Regions from separate parts of the Homo sapiens genome. Here all the other regions are linked to region 1. Evidence: promoter capture Hi-C in 16 types of primary human blood cells and fetal thymus (Javierre and others, 2016). All regions are on one chromosome and are shown on one strand. The core of a region is centred on a gene start or on the middle of the fragment in contact, and the rest is flanking DNA. Distances in the headings are between cores, read along the strand shown.

Region 1 (4,998 bases), core at 998-3,497:
AGGCAGAGGAATCGCCCGAACCCAGAAGGCGGAGGTTGCAGTGAGCCGAGAGCGTGCCACTGCACTCCTGCCTGGGCGACAGAGCAAGACTCCGTCTCAAATAATAATAATAATAATGAGAGCAAAAAAGAAAGAAAAGCCAAAACAAGCCTCAGAAACTGCCATTTGTTTAATATCTGCATTAAAAAAATTATCCCTTCCATCAGATGAAAAATACCTTATAATTTATGATGGATAATACATTAATTCGTAGCACACTAGAAACAAGGGATTCCTTAAGACACATATGTGGGGTTTTTGTTGTTGTTGTTGTTGTTGTTGTTATTTTTATTATCTTTAAGGATAATTTGTTGGGTAGGGGTCAGTGAGTTGGGAGTCCTGATTGGTTGGGTCGGAGACGAGACACGTAAGTTTAAGTTCTATAATGAAACGCTTTCAATCATGTCAGTTTATCTGTGCCTATAAACACACTCCTTTAGAGAAAATCAAAAGTTTATAGCCAGGCGCGGTGGCTCACGCCTGTAATCCCAGCACTTTGGGAGGCCGAGGTGGGTGGATCACCTTAGGTCAGGAGTTCGAGACCAGCCTGACCAACGTGGTGAATTACCATCTCTACTAGAAACACAAATTGAACGGGCGTGTTTGTGGGCACCTGTAATCCCAGCTACTCGGGAGGCTGAGACAGGAGAATCGCTTGAACCCGGGGGACGGAGGTGGTAGTGAGCCAAGATCGCACCACTGCACTCCAGCCTGGGCAACAAGAGTGAAACTCCGTCTCAAAAAAAAAAGTTTACATATAAGGCTCTCTTAGTATCCCTGGGAAGAGGGTTCATCCTGTCTATGAACGGGTTTAGGATGACACAAATTATCAAATTATCCGATTAGTGCACTTTCCTAACCCATATGTTTAATCAGTGGCACATCCTGGTTTTGAATTATTTAAACGCATTATTATTTAGCCATTCACATACTTACGTTTGTCACTTCCAGTTAAACTGTAGCCACCTACAGAGAGCGAAACAGAAGTCGGCTGATAAAATTTTGATAAAATTTCATTTGCCCGCAGCTGGTCATTTCATTGGGCGCTTTTGTGTTACAAAAGTGTGTGAATTGGCCGGGCGCGGTGGCTCACGCCTGTAAATCCCAGCACTTTGGGAGGCCGAGGCAGGTGGATCACTAAAGGTCACGAGTTCGAGACCAGTCTGGCCAACATGGTGAACCCTCCCCCCCCCCACACACACACACACACCCCGCGTCTCTAGTAAAATACAAAAATTAGCCAGGCATGGTGGTGCGCGCCTGTAATCCCAGCCACTCGAGAGGCTGAGGCGGGAGAATCACTTGAGCCTTGGAGGTGGAGGTTGTAGTGAGCCCAGATCGCAACACTGCACTCCAGCCTAGGGGACAGAGCGAGACTTCCTCTCAAAAAAAAAAGACTTATGAATTGTTTGAAGAGGCACGAGACCGTGGCAACCCTAACTGTCCCCGACATCTGGCAGCCATATGCTATCCTTGAACTTGAACTTCAGAGTGAAAGTATAAATTTGTAAGGGGAAGGCTCAGCCGCAAGTCACATACCAGTGGTCAGTTAAAAAAAAAAAACTCAGGACGGCAACCTAAATCATTTAGAACGCGTCAAGAGCCTCGGAAAAACTATTTTCACACACTTCTCTAGCACTAACATGGGAAGCGCGTTTCCTTCACATATTCCACACCTTTTATTCTTCCCACCAACATCAAGAATACAAAGCGCCCAGAGAGGACAATAAGCCTAAGCAGCGGCTCCAAGAGACCGGACTTTCGTACTTCCCGGGGGCAGGCGGAAGGTTACGGAGCGCTGGAAGGATCTTACTGCTCCTTGAAGGGCTGTCTGAGAAAATACACAGCCTAACGACTCCTCGTTAGTATAGTGGTTAGTATCCCCGCCTGTCACGCGGGAGACCGGGGTTCAATTCCCCGACGGGGAGGTGTGTAGCTGCACTTTTTTGGCGACAGTTATTATTTTCTGTATCATTCAATGACAGGACACTGCTGTTAAACATAATATGCTAAACCAGCTCCCTTAAGTGCACAACCCTGTCTTCAAAATGGTGACTTTTAACCTTAATGCCCACCATGAAGTGAAAGCCTCCCCTGAGAGAAAATGCCTTACATTGTTTGCAGGAAGGGAGGAAAGGGAAAAAGAAAACGCTCTGAAGGCCTCTGCCCTTGCCTCCAGCCGCCATCTTGCGAAGGCCTGCGCCGGCTTAGTGGCGCCCCGCCAGATTACAACTCGAGGTCGCGAACTCAGCGCGCGGAACCTGTTGGGGGAGGGGAGAGAGGGCGGAGTCTCGCGACTAACGGGGCGGGGGCAGGGCGGGTAAGAACGGAAATCATTTGGTAAAGAAAAGGAAGGGCCAATTTCCTTTGATCCTGGAGACCCGACTAAACGGGAAGCCCCGTTCTCCCGCTTCCGCTGGTTACGTCCCAGCCTTGGTTAGAGGACTAGCAGTCAGGAAAGTTTGGACGCTGAAGGAATCGGTCTCCTGGTCCGACAGATACTGGGTGGAGGGGCAGAGAGTAAATGGAAGAGAAAGACTGGTACCCCTGGAAGAAACGCCATTTACTGGTGTCCTAAGAAACTGCGCGAGCCACAGCCCAGCAGGACCTCGTGGCGCAACGGTAGCGCGTCTGACTCCAGATCAGAAGGCTGCGTGTTCGAATCACGTCGGGGTCAAACTTTTTTTTTTTCCTCCTGTATTTTAAACTACCGACTACTAGAAGCCGAGGTGTATTCCTGCCGCCAATTTTCTTGAATGTTAGAATTAAGTTTTCCTCTTTCAGGTATTATGATACTAATCCTTGGTTTGCAGGAAGATATGATTTACTCTATATCGAAGAGCCTCAAGGCTGATGTTTTTATCATTTGGCCTTTTAAAGTGAGTTTTTTTGTCACTTAACATGCATAATGTGTAAAGAGGTGGACTATTACTGCTGTGCATTAGTGGGTGTATCAGTCCACTAGTCTATCACAGGAAGTGTACAATATACTGTACAAGCTGTTTTTTCCAAACAGTTTTAGGCTGTTTGCCTTTTGAAAGAGAGTACAATAGTGTACAATTTCTAATTTTGAATATTATGCTAATCAAGTGTCTTAGCCCTTACCATGTGCCAACACTGTGAACAACCTCACAATGTGTGACTATTATCCCACTTTTACAAATGTGGCTGTGGCTCACAGGGTTAGTGACCTGCCAAGGGTCACCCAAGATTCTGAACCAGGTGAGGGACTCTGGATCCCTCTTTATAAATACTTTATAATAAAGGTGGAAACAAACAGTTGAAAGAATGTGTGACTGCCAGGCTCAGTGGCTTACACCTGTAATCCTAGCACTTTGGAAGGCCAAAGTGGGTGGATCACGAGGTCAGGAGTTCAAGACCAGCCTGACCAACATGGTGAAACCCCATTTCTACTGAAAATACAAAAATTAGCTGGGCATGGTGGGGTGCACCTGTAATCCCAGCTACTCCGGAGGCTGAGGCAGAAGAATTGATTGAACCCGGGAGGCGGAGGTTGCAGTGAGCCTGGGTGACCAAGCAAGACTCCTTCTGGAGGTGGGTGGCGGGGAGGAATGTGGGAAAAGCTGTTGGACTGGGCGCCTTTTATGTTTTCACCGATTATGCGAGTGATGACTAGTCACCACTTTTGACTATTAATCTCTTTAATAGCAGGAAGCAAAGCTTGCTCGTTCACATTTGCAAGCTCCAGGACTCTTAGTACTAAATAGTGCCCTACACGTAAGTGTCAAATATTTGTTGAACAGAAAATGAATAGCAAGACTATGAGAAATTAATAGTTTTAGATTTTGATGATATGTTTTGTAAAATTCCTGAGGTTTTCTGCTTAGTATTTTGAAAATACCAAACACTAATTTCTTTTGATTCAACCTAATGTAGCAGTATACCTGGAAATTATATTTGCACATGGTGTGGTTTGTTCTTCCCTCTCCTGTTTGGATTAAAATTAGATCATCCATTTCAACGGGTATTTATGGACTGTCAACTCTGATGAGCCTGATACTGTGCTAAGTACTAAGGATGAGGATACACTGAGTAAAAATGGGTTTTTTTGAGCATCAGGAGACAGATATGTTAAGCCACCAAACGCCATAATGTGTTGGGGTAAGTTCATGTTACTTGGTAAGAACCATGAAAGTAACATGAACAGAGTGGTATGGGGGTGCTAAAACAGTGGACAGTAACTCCACATTGGGTTGTATGAGGCTATAACAAGGTGATACAACCTCTCCATCTACATCACAAAAATATGGTTTTGTCCAAATGAGTTAACATGATTGGTCCAAGCTACGATATATGCAGTATATGCAAATGATGCCAGAGGGAAGAAATGGCTTCTGTTATGGGCTGAATTTTTTTTTTTTTTTTTTTTTTGAGATGGAGTCTCACCCTGTCGCCCAAGCTGGAATGCAGTGGCAACCTCCGCCTCCCAGGTTCAAACGATTCAGCCTCCCAAGTAGCTGGGATTACAAGTGCACCCCACTACACCCAGCTATTTTTTTGTTTGTTTGTTTGTTATCTTTAGTAGAGACAAGGTTTCACCATGTTGGCCAGGCTGGTCTTGAACTCCTGACCTCATGATCCACCTGCGTCAGCCTCCCAAAGTGCTGGGATTACAGGCGTGAGCCACCACACCCAGTTTATGGGCTGAATTTCATCTCCCCAACATTCATATGTTGAAGCCCTCACTCCTAGTACCTCAGAATGATCGTAAGACCTGATTAAGTACGCTAGGTGCAGTGGCTCACGCCTGTAATCCCAGCACTTTGGGAGGCCAAGGCAGGTGGATCACAAGATCAGGAGTTGGAGACCAGCCTTGCCAACATGGTGAAACCCTGTCTCTACTGGAAATAGAAAAATTAGCTGGGCGCGGTGGCGGGTGCCTATAATTCCAGCTACTCGGGAGGCTGAGGCAGGAGAATTGCTTGAACCCGGGAGGCA
Region 2 (4,998 bases), core at 1,862-4,361, 120 kb before region 1:
GTACCTACGTAACGAAACTGCACATCCTGCACATGTGCCCCAGAACTTAAAATACATTTTTTTTGAGACAGAGTCCACTCTGTCATCCAGGCTGGTGTGCAGTGGCACAATCTCGCCTCACTGCAACCTCCGCCTCCCAGGTTCAAGCGATTTTCCTGCCTCAGCCTCCTGAGTAGCTGGGATTACAGGCGCCCGCCACCAGGCCCAGCTCATTTTTGTATTTTTAGTGGAGATGAGGTTTCACCATGTCGGTCAGACAGGTCTCCAACTCCTGACCTTGTGATCTGCTCGCCTTGGCCTCCCAAAGTGCTGGGATTACAGGTGTGAGCCACCGCACCCAGCTCAAAATATTTTTTTTAATTAAGCATATGAGATAATAGATAAGCTAATTAGCTTGATTTAGCCACTCCACAGTGTTTATATATATGCCAAAACATCATGTTGTACATCACACATATATACAATTTGTCAATTAGAATTTTTTTATTTTTTTATTTTTAAACAAAATATGTACACCTAGCTCAAGAGAGGAGATGCTGGCCCCAGAGACCTCCTGCTATACTCACTCCGTCCTTACACCTTACACAAAAATTAACTCAGGACCTCCATACTTCTTAGATTCATGACCTTACACAAATGACTTAACCCTTCCAAGCCTTCATTTCACTTATTCATAAGATGGAGATGATGATAATAATGCCTATCACCCTGAATTGTTGTGAGGATTAAATGAGATGCAAGCAAAGTGCCACCCACTGCTGCCAACCCATATTAGATGCACAATAAACATAAGCTATCATTACTATTAAAGAAGAAAGATTAAAATAAGCAACATTTCAATCAACTTTAGCAAAAACGAATCTGATTCTCCTATATTTAATGTGACTATTTCCTCAGGTCAGACAAACATGAGATAGGCTACCCCTCACTGAATCATACCTTCCAACCCTGGCAACTGAGTCAACTTGATTCCCTTTAGGTTCAATTCCAGGCCCTGGTACTAGTTTTGTCCCCAATTAAGACAAATAGATTGACCTCTCTGTCAACAAGGAGACTTATGGAGTCCATCTTGATTAATTCTGTGTCCACCAGGGGCTGAACCCCATGGCTTACATGTTGAGTTTTTCCACTGTAAAGCCTCAATCTTCCCAGTCGCTGAAAGCAGAATTCTATGCCCCAGCCACCATGGCTACCTTTCCTGTCTCTCAACACCTGTCACCAGCTCCCTGACTACTTTTTCCTGGCTTTCCCAGTGCTAGTGCCAGTTTGATTGGAACTCAGCCTCTTCAAAGCTGTGGGAGTCTCATCCCAACAGTTTTCAGATCTTGCATCCCTAGTAGACCCTGGTTAAAAGGTTCAGGAATCCTACATGTTCTTCCCCTGGACGCAACTCCTTGAGAGGGATCTTCTAAACTCACATCCCTATGTGCCAACCCTGGATGTGCTACATTTGGCTCCCATCTCTGGCTGACCTAGCCTCCAGACAGTAAAGCATGGCATTTATGAGCCCAAAGGCTGCAGTCATACAAGGAGCATTTGAGTCCCAGGTCTGCCACCTACTAGCTGTATGATCTCAATCAATCACTTATGATGCTTTCTGAGCCAAACTATAAAATAGCGATAAAAACTCATACCTCTCAGAGTTGTTGTAAAGACTGAAAGAGGTAAATTAGATTTAGTTCCGTAGTTGTCACAGAGAAACTTTCAATAAGTCGATGTTATTCTTGGTGGAAGGCATCTTCCATCGTAGCATGTCCCCCCTCCCCTGCAACTTGGTGTCTAGCCATTCTCCACCTATTTAAACTAGACCTTAATGAAACAACTTAGAAATCGCTCAAAAGCCTAGATCATGACAATACTGATACAGGAGCTAAAAAGAAATTATTTAGGCAGATAGGGAGGGTAAGAGAGTTCTCAATAAGGTTTCCTTTTAAAAAAAACAAAAGCAGCCCCAAAATCATTTCTTTCCTAACAAAAAGCAGCCTGAAAAATCAAGCTGCAAGCATAGATAAGCAAGCTAAAAGCTTACATAGGTAAATACCAGCAGCTATGCCAATAGAAAAAGGCTACCTGGGGGCCAGGCATGTTCAACATGGCAGCTCCCTCTTCCCTTTTCTTTGTCAACCACATGTTCAGTAAGGAACAGACAACATGGAGCCGCCAGCTAGAGAACTCATCTGCACAATAAAAGACTAGGGTGGGGTGGCCAGCTTCTTCACAGGCTATGTAAATGGCACACCTGGTCCAACCATCTTTGGGCCCTGTGTTAATCAGACACCACCTCCTCAAGCTCATCTATAAAACCCTGTGTTTGATTGGAACTCAGCCTCTTCAAACCTGTGGGAGTCTCATCACAACAGTTTTCAGATCTTGGATCCCTAGTTAAAAGGTTCAGGAATCCTACATGTTCTTCCCCTGGACACAACTTCACCACAAAACCAGCAGACCCACTCAGGCACCCCTCTCTCTCTCTGCAGAGAGCTATTCTCTTTTCTCTTTCTTTCGCCTATTAAACCTCTGCTCTTAACCTCACTCCAGATGTGTCCGTGTCTTTGATTTCCTTGCCATAAGACAACAAGCCTCAGGTGTTACCCCAGATGAACAACGCTGCTTCAATACTTTTAGGTCTTTCAAATCAAAGTTATCCAAAATCAAATTTGGACATACACTGTTGTTTAATATTTATTTAGAACTTCATTCCCTCAACAAATATATATGAGCATCTACCGTATGCCAAGCACGGGGCCATGTGAGTATCAGATAGACATGGTACCTGCCCTCATGGAGGTTACAGTCCCCTGTTTCCCAAACCAGAATTAAAGAGATCCTTTTTTGTGGAAAATTTCTTACTAATCCAGATTTATGTCTAGCACAGTACTAGCTGGTAAAATCATTCTTTTGCTAGTAATTCACTATATTTTCCAATATTTTAAATGTATTTTTGTTCTTATTTTAAAACTTTATTAAAATTGAAAAATGTGGCCAGGCTCAGTGACTCACGCCTGTAATACCAGCACTTTGGGAGGCCCAGGCGGGCAGATCACCTGAGGTCAGGAGTTCAAGACCAGCCTGGACAACATGGTGAAACCCTGTCTCTACTAAAAATACAAAAATTAGCCGGGCGTGGTGGCAGGCACCTGTAATCCCAGCTACTCAGGAGGCTGAGGCAGGAGAATCATTTGAACCCAGGAGGCAGAGATTGCAGTGAGCCGAGGTCACGCCACTGCACTCCAGCCTGGGAGACAAACCGAGACTCTGTCTCAAGAAAAAAAAAAAAAAGAAAAAAAGGAAAAATGCTTGCTGACTCTCTGCACGAAGGTAACCTTCGGAAGCAGGGAGGTCTGGCCATCTTGTTTTACTACCCTCGTGTTTCTCCCAGGTAAACCTCAGGGAATGGCCACCACTGGCTCCTGATCTGTGGCCGAACATCTACTCTCCTCCCTCCAGGTCCTTTGCCATTTTTTCTCTTCCGGAACCTTCCAGTATTCCAAAATAAATACTGTATTTTTAAATCTGAAAATTTAGAACACATTCCAGTTACTTATCTGGATTTTTTTAAAACAAGAAAGGACTCCCAATTGCTGCAGTCAGTCTTTTAGAAAAGCAAAGAATTTTCTCTCTTGGGGAGTTGCTACATATGACGCTATTCTGTTTTGAAGGATCTTAGATAAGTCTTCAATTTTGTAAAGTTTTGAGATTAATAATACCTTAGGGGGAAAAACGCTGAAAGGTAGGCAGGTCTTGTCACAGTAAAAGAAAAGATTCTTTCCTGCTTTGCTGTGATTAGCTGCATAAGTTGTGGTGCGAGTTCCAGTGCTAAATGAATTAGTATGCATCCCACCCAGAGTACTGTTTGTTGAAGTAAAATGCTTACAATCTTTGCTTGGGGGAGGAAAAAAAAAGGGTATGTCATTGAGTGAATATGAATTAATCAGTACTTTATGGACAGAACCCATAATTTTAAAGCAGGGAAAAAAAGCCGAGGCATTTATCAGAGTTCCACTCAGCAATCTCCCTCTGTCATTGCTAATAAATCTTTTATGAAATGGAGTTTTGCAATCTTTGCAGGAACATTACCCACCCCCCACCTTTTCTTTGCAGGAAAAAAATAAGTTAGCATCCATCTCTAATATTTTACCCTCCCTTCCTTATTTGAGTGTCCTGTACTCAGAAAAAATCTCTGAAGCTCTTTATTTTTAAAGCTTTTTTCTCCCCCAATTTATAATGTTAAGACCTCTTTCATCAGAAGAAATAATTCATCTAAGTCTTCTCACAGGAGATTTAAGGAAAGAAGCTGAGTTTCAGGTGAGGAATGCAATATTTTTAATAAGTGTAATATCCCGGGCCTGCTAAACAATCAATATTTATAGATAGAGTGATAAAGTCCGTCGGGAAATAGAGTTTGGAGATGGGTAAGAGGATAATTAAAGGATAAAACATTCCAATTCAAATGTTTTATAATTTTCCTATCGCTACTCACAGAATCAAGATTCTGCCGAATTATAGACAGCCTGCCAATAACCTCATGATGCCCGGATTTAATTAGGATTTTATGCTCCCACCTGAAGGTTAGGTTCATTAGCTGTAAAATAAGCCACTGGATGTCTGGATTAAGAATTAAAGGGAACCCTAAGTGTAGAGTGGCACGTAGCCAGTTTCTAGCCACTTAAACCGTGCAAATGGACGTGTGATCATTTTCCCCGAGGTTGGTAACTTTTTATTTTTAGCCACAAATCCACAGGCCATTTCTCTTGGTTAGGGCTGGGACCTGATGGCGGTCGAAAACTTAAAAAGGTACACGACTGAGGAACAAGTTGTTAAGAGGCTATTATGAAGGGTTGACGGGAGGGGGTGGGAGGTGCATAATGATTTTGCCATTAAGCTTTCGTTCCATTTTACAGCTTGGATTTATTTATAACAACAGGTGGTGGTATTTGTGGGGAATTGCTTGTTTTTTCATTTGAGAAGGGCAGCTCCATACATCTGCTGGGAGGTGAA
Region 3 (4,998 bases), core at 1,277-3,776, 96 kb before region 1:
CATTGAAGGTCTTAGTAAAATGGTAATTATCTCATGGAAGTGGTACATGAAGGGCAGTCATGCTCCCCAACAAGAATTTGGACTTGCCCTCTGGGAATAAAAAGGAACATCGGTATGTAAGTCATCATAAGCAAGGATAGACTCTAACCAAACTTATGACCCAAGGAGACAAGTCTTTTACATTCAACATGCCAATTCCAGTCAAATGACTGGTTCCCTGGAGTGCTGCATAGAGAAGGATTTTTGAGACTTCTTCTGAGTCTAGCAGGAAAGAGAGCTACAATTGATTAGTAATGTCTGCCATGCACACAAGGGGTGAATGATGGCAAGGATAGCATATAAGTGCATCCCTTTGTTGACACATCCAGAAAACTGTGACTCGGAAGTGGGATTGACTGACCCCAGGAGTATGGAAAAGGGGAGCCACTGAGGCAGATGCCACTGAGCCACTGCCCAAGGAGCCCTAGAGCAAGCATTTTTCTGGCAAGGAAGAGCACAAAGCAGAAACCGTGTCATTAAGCACAGTACTCACACCCTGGTACTGATTCCAAGTTTACCAAGCAATGTCTTCTGTGCCTTCCCCTGTAGCGTGCCTTTAGGGAAAGAATGTTCTGGGTCAAGACACACCTAAAGTCCAGTGGCCAGTTTGCTTGACATTAATAGTTCTTGATGGAGATTAAGAAGAGTCTTTCTGGTTTCACTGATGACTCTCTGTGGACTTGGTTCATGTGCCCATCCAAGAAAGATGAATCTGCTCTCAGGTACCCTTGGCCAGTCAGGTCTCTGAGACTACAAGGCTGCGGACTAAATCTTGGACTCCGGTAAATTCACCAAAATAAGGTCCCCCTGCCAAGTCTTTTCCTGGGCTTGCAATTGCATTCCCTTCTGCATGCCATGTTCATTTGACAACCACCATATGCTAAGAGGAGTATGGAGTGGAATTAAATTGCCAGTGTATTTTTAGAAACCTGGCTAGCAGGTCAGCTGAGTTCTGAGGTTGGGACACAGGACTAGTCACTTTAATAAGGACAGAAAGGAAGTAAAGTGTCTAAAACCTGCAGATTGGCAGGCCCAGATGGAGCCTGTAAGTTCTTCAAGGGCAGAGACTATGTCTTTGTTATGTATATATCTATTCTCAGTGCACAGCACCACTCTGAGACATGGCAAGTGCTCCATAAATATGTGTTGAGTGAATGAGTTTATTGAATGGGCAGCAGAAGTTTCCAGAAGTGTTGTGGAAGGAGCTGTTTAGGTAAGAGAATGAGCTGAAAGGGCCAACAGGAAATACTAACAATAAACCACAGGCTTTACAATGTCGCCTTGAGCTTACCCACCCAGTTTAGGAAGTTTTCACCTTCAAGCCAGCAATATCGCTGTTTATACAATAACCTTGAGCCTTTGCGTATGCTGTTCCCTCTGCTTGGAGTATTCTTGCTACCCTGGCTATGCACATGAATTTGTGCACACGTGCACGTGCATGGACATACGCGCACACACATTCATATAACTGCTTCTTTAGTTGTCACTTCTTCAGAGACATCTATTCCGATTTCTCTAAGTTCTCCTCCTCCCACTGCCTTGTATCCTCTAGCTCAATCCCTTTTATATGTTCTTCATAACATTTGTCACCATCTGTAATTATCTTAAGTGTTTTTCACTTATTTCCTGTTTGCTTCCTCCCCTAGGGCATAAGCTCCATGATTCAAGGACTGTATTCTCTTATTCACTGTTGTATTTCCAAGCGCTGAGCTCGGTATCTGGTCATAGTAGATACTCAAAAAGTATCTATTGAATAAATTATGAATGAACAGTGCTTCTACACTTATTGCCTCACTGGTACAGCACACTAGCCTTTTATGAGTTAGACTTCAGTAAAAGGAGACTGAAGACAGCACTCCAGTTATTTTAATCAGAAAAATTTTAATCCAAAAAATTCATCTTTTTTTATTTATTTATTTTTATTTTTATTTTTTTTTTTGAGATGGAGTCTCGCTCTATCACCCAGGCTGGAGTGCAGTGGTGCGATCTCGGCTCACTGCAAGCTCCGCCTCCCGGGTTCACGCCATTCTCCTGCCTCAGCCTCCTGAGCAGCTGGGACCACAGGCACCTGCCACCACGCCTGGCTAATTTTTTGTATTTTTAGTAGAGACAGGGTTTCACCGTGTTAGCCAGGATGGTCTCAATCTCCTGACCTCATGATCTGCCTGCCCCAGCCTCCCAAAGTGCTGGGATTAAAGGCGTGAGCCACCGCACCCGGCCCAAAAAAATTCATCTCTTACAAAATTGTTGGAGGGCTAGAAGAATGGGTTCTAAACTGGGCCTCCAGGAATGACCACCTAAACAACACTGTTGAACTGGCCCCCACTTTGCCAGAATCAGTTACAAGGGTCCACGGAGAGGCCACTCCTGGAACTATTGAATTCAAGGACATACCACTGAGCTTGCAAAACAAGGATCAGGAAGTCATTGGTGCTGCAGATCCCTCTCAGCACCCTCAGAACTAGGTAGTAAGCACTGGAACATTGCTGCAGGGGGAAAATGCCTCTGTGACCAGGCTCACCAGCCCAAACAGTCAAACCAGCAAAGCAACAAGAAGATGGCTTCCACCTAAAGTCCATCTTTCATATGATGAGTTATTGGAACTAGGAGAAATCTAAATCATGGTTGTAACCCTAGCTGCAAGAGAGTCTTGGAAATGCAATGCCTACCTTTCCAGTTTCTGTTGTTCTGGAAGGTGCCCTATGGAGGTTGGAAAGGATGATGATGAGTTCCGATACCAAACCACCACAAGCCCTGTGAAGTAGGCAGGGAAAACTCCATCATTGCCTGGTGGCGCAGTGGCTCACACCTGTAATCCAAGCACTTTGGGAGGCCAATATGGGAGGATTGCTTGAGCCCAGGAGTTCAAGACCAGCCTGGGCAACATACAGATACCTTATCTCTACAAAAAAAATAAAAATTTGCTGGGCATGGTAGCTCATGCCTGTAGTCCCAGTGACTCAGGAGACTGAGGTAGGAGGATCTGCTTGAGCCTGGGAAGTCAAGGCTGCAATAAGCCGTGATCACGCCACTGCACTCTAGTGTAAACAACAGAGGGAGATGCTCTCTCAAAAAAAAATGCATCATTGCCACTTTTACAGATGAAAAACCTGAGTCTTCAGAAAATTAAATAATAATCCCTATTGATTGGTTCTCAAAATTATTTGTGGAATGAGTGAGGATGAATTATTTTCCCAGAGTCAAAAAGCAAACTCCTGTTGCCCTTAAAGACCCAAGTGAAAGGGATCTCCTCTGTGATGCCTGACCTAACCACCCAAGCTAAAGTCAATGCTATTGTTTATGCATACACACCTACACACACACACCGTGACTTTGATATGTTCATCATGGTACCTACCACAATGTATTTTAAGGACCAATTTGTGTTTCTGTTTCCCTAAGCAGACAATGAAGTCCTCAAGGGCAAAGATGGCATCTTAGTCTTCTCACCAACCTGGGTATCCACTGTGTGTAGCTCATAGGAGGTCAGATTAATACTTGGTTTATTGACTTAGTAAGTGTAGTGCTCTGGGCTCTTGACATTAGGCCAGTCCTCTTTCCACCATGCCACACCGCTTCTACCCAACTTTTTCTGAAATCTACTGGCTTTGGTATTCATTTGCTCACTCATGCAAGAAATATCTATTAAGCACCCATAATGAATCAGTGTTTGACACAGGAGATGTAACAGTGAGTGAAAAGAGACAGTCTCATGGCCCATAAAGACTACAGTCTAGTGGGGGAGATGGATATGAATTAGCTGATCACACAAATAAATGTGTAACTACAGCAATGATGATGACACCATAAAAGGAGGTGCATCCTGGTCTGGGAGCGTGTAATAGGTTTGAACTGTACAAGGACATCAGAAAAGATTTGTATAAAGCAGTGATGATAGCTGACATCTAAATGATAATAGGAGTTATGCAACGCAAAGAGGTCAGAAGGTCAATTCCGTGAGAAAGGAAATGGTCATGCAGAGGCCCTGTGGTAAGAGGAAGGTGAAGAAACAGAAGAACAAGGATGGTATTTTTTCCATGAGAAAGGAAATGGTCATGCAGAGGCCCTGTAGTAGGAGGAAGGTGAAGAAACAAAAGAACGAGGATGGAATTAAGTGGGGCTGGAAAATGAGGAAAGGGTAAGACCCTGCAGAACCTATAGGTCAAATGTAGGATGTCTTTCTTTATTCACCTGGGGGAGAGGATGACATGCTTATAGGTGTGCCTTAGAAAACTTCAATGTGTGGCCAGGCATGGTGTCTCATGCTTGTAATCCCAGCACTTTGGGAGGCTGAGGCAGGCAGATCACTTGAGGTCAGGAGTTCAAAACCAGCCTGACCAAACCCTGTCTCTACCAATAATACAAAAATAAGCTGGGTGTGGTGACATGTGCCTGTAATGCCAGCTACTCAGGAGGGTGAAGGAGGAGAATCGCTTGAGACCAGGAGGCAGAAGTTGTAGTATAGATTGTACCACTGCACTCCAGCCTGGGTGACAGAACGAGACTCTGTCAAGAAAAGAAAAGAAAATTTCAATGTGGCTGGGCACAGTGGCTCATGCCTATAATCCCAGCACTTTAGGAGGCTGACACAGGAGGATCACTTGAGCCCAGGAATTCGAGACCAGCCTGGGAAACATAGGTAGACCCTATCTCTAACTACAAGAAAAAAAATTAAAATGTAATTTAAAAAACAAGAAGACTTCAATGTGAAGAATAAAGTATGGCATAGCATGCAATCATTCAGCCTCCCACAGTGCCCCACTTTGAGCCAAGCACAAAACTCTGAGCTGAGCCATCTTCAGCAGCAGCCCCCATCTTCTTGGTCTGTCTTTCCAAGATTGCATCATACGTTGAACATCATGTAAATATATGCTATGCACAAGAAAAACATGCATTTCCAAAGAATACTTTGAAGAGAAACAACTTGCTTATGTCATTCACATACAGAGGCACAGAGAG

The links. The method cuts DNA at HindIII sites, captures the fragments that hold promoters and counts their contacts. A CHiCAGO score of 5 or more calls a contact.
Region 2: a fragment that was not itself captured here is called in contact with the fragment with the promoter of LINC02453 in region 1 in 1 of 17 cell types (monocytes); the score reaches 5.1 in monocytes.
Region 3: a fragment that was not itself captured here is called in contact with the fragment with the promoter of LINC02453 in region 1 in 3 of 17 cell types (monocytes, M0 macrophages and activated CD4 T cells); the score reaches 14.3 in monocytes.

The regions. Positions count from the first base shown.
Region 1 is chr12:98,501,608-98,506,605 of GRCh38, forward strand. LINC02453 (long intergenic non-protein coding RNA 2453) reads right to left here and starts at 2,248. Exons shown (of 4, transcript NR_038383.1): 1 at 2,153-2,248; 2 at 976-1,005. TRD-GTC1-1 (tRNA-Asp (anticodon GTC) 1-1) reads left to right here and starts at 1,896; the gene lies at 1,896-1,967. It overlaps TRW-CCA4-1 (tRNA-Trp (anticodon CCA) 4-1), which reads left to right and starts at 2,645; the gene lies at 2,645-2,716. RefSeq lists enhancers at 1,986-2,295, 2,306-2,605. The HindIII fragment of the contact is 12,452 bases long and covers 1-3,718 here.
Region 2 is chr12:98,383,648-98,388,645 of GRCh38, forward strand. No RefSeq gene overlaps it. Among named protein-coding and RNA genes, the nearest start is that of TRD-GTC1-1, 120 kb to the right of the region's middle. RefSeq lists an enhancer at 2,033-2,534. The HindIII fragment of the contact is 2,178 bases long and covers 2,023-4,200 here.
Region 3 is chr12:98,404,877-98,409,874 of GRCh38, forward strand. No RefSeq gene overlaps it. Among named protein-coding and RNA genes, the nearest start is that of TRD-GTC1-1, 96 kb to the right of the region's middle. The HindIII fragment of the contact is 7,332 bases long and covers 1-4,998 here.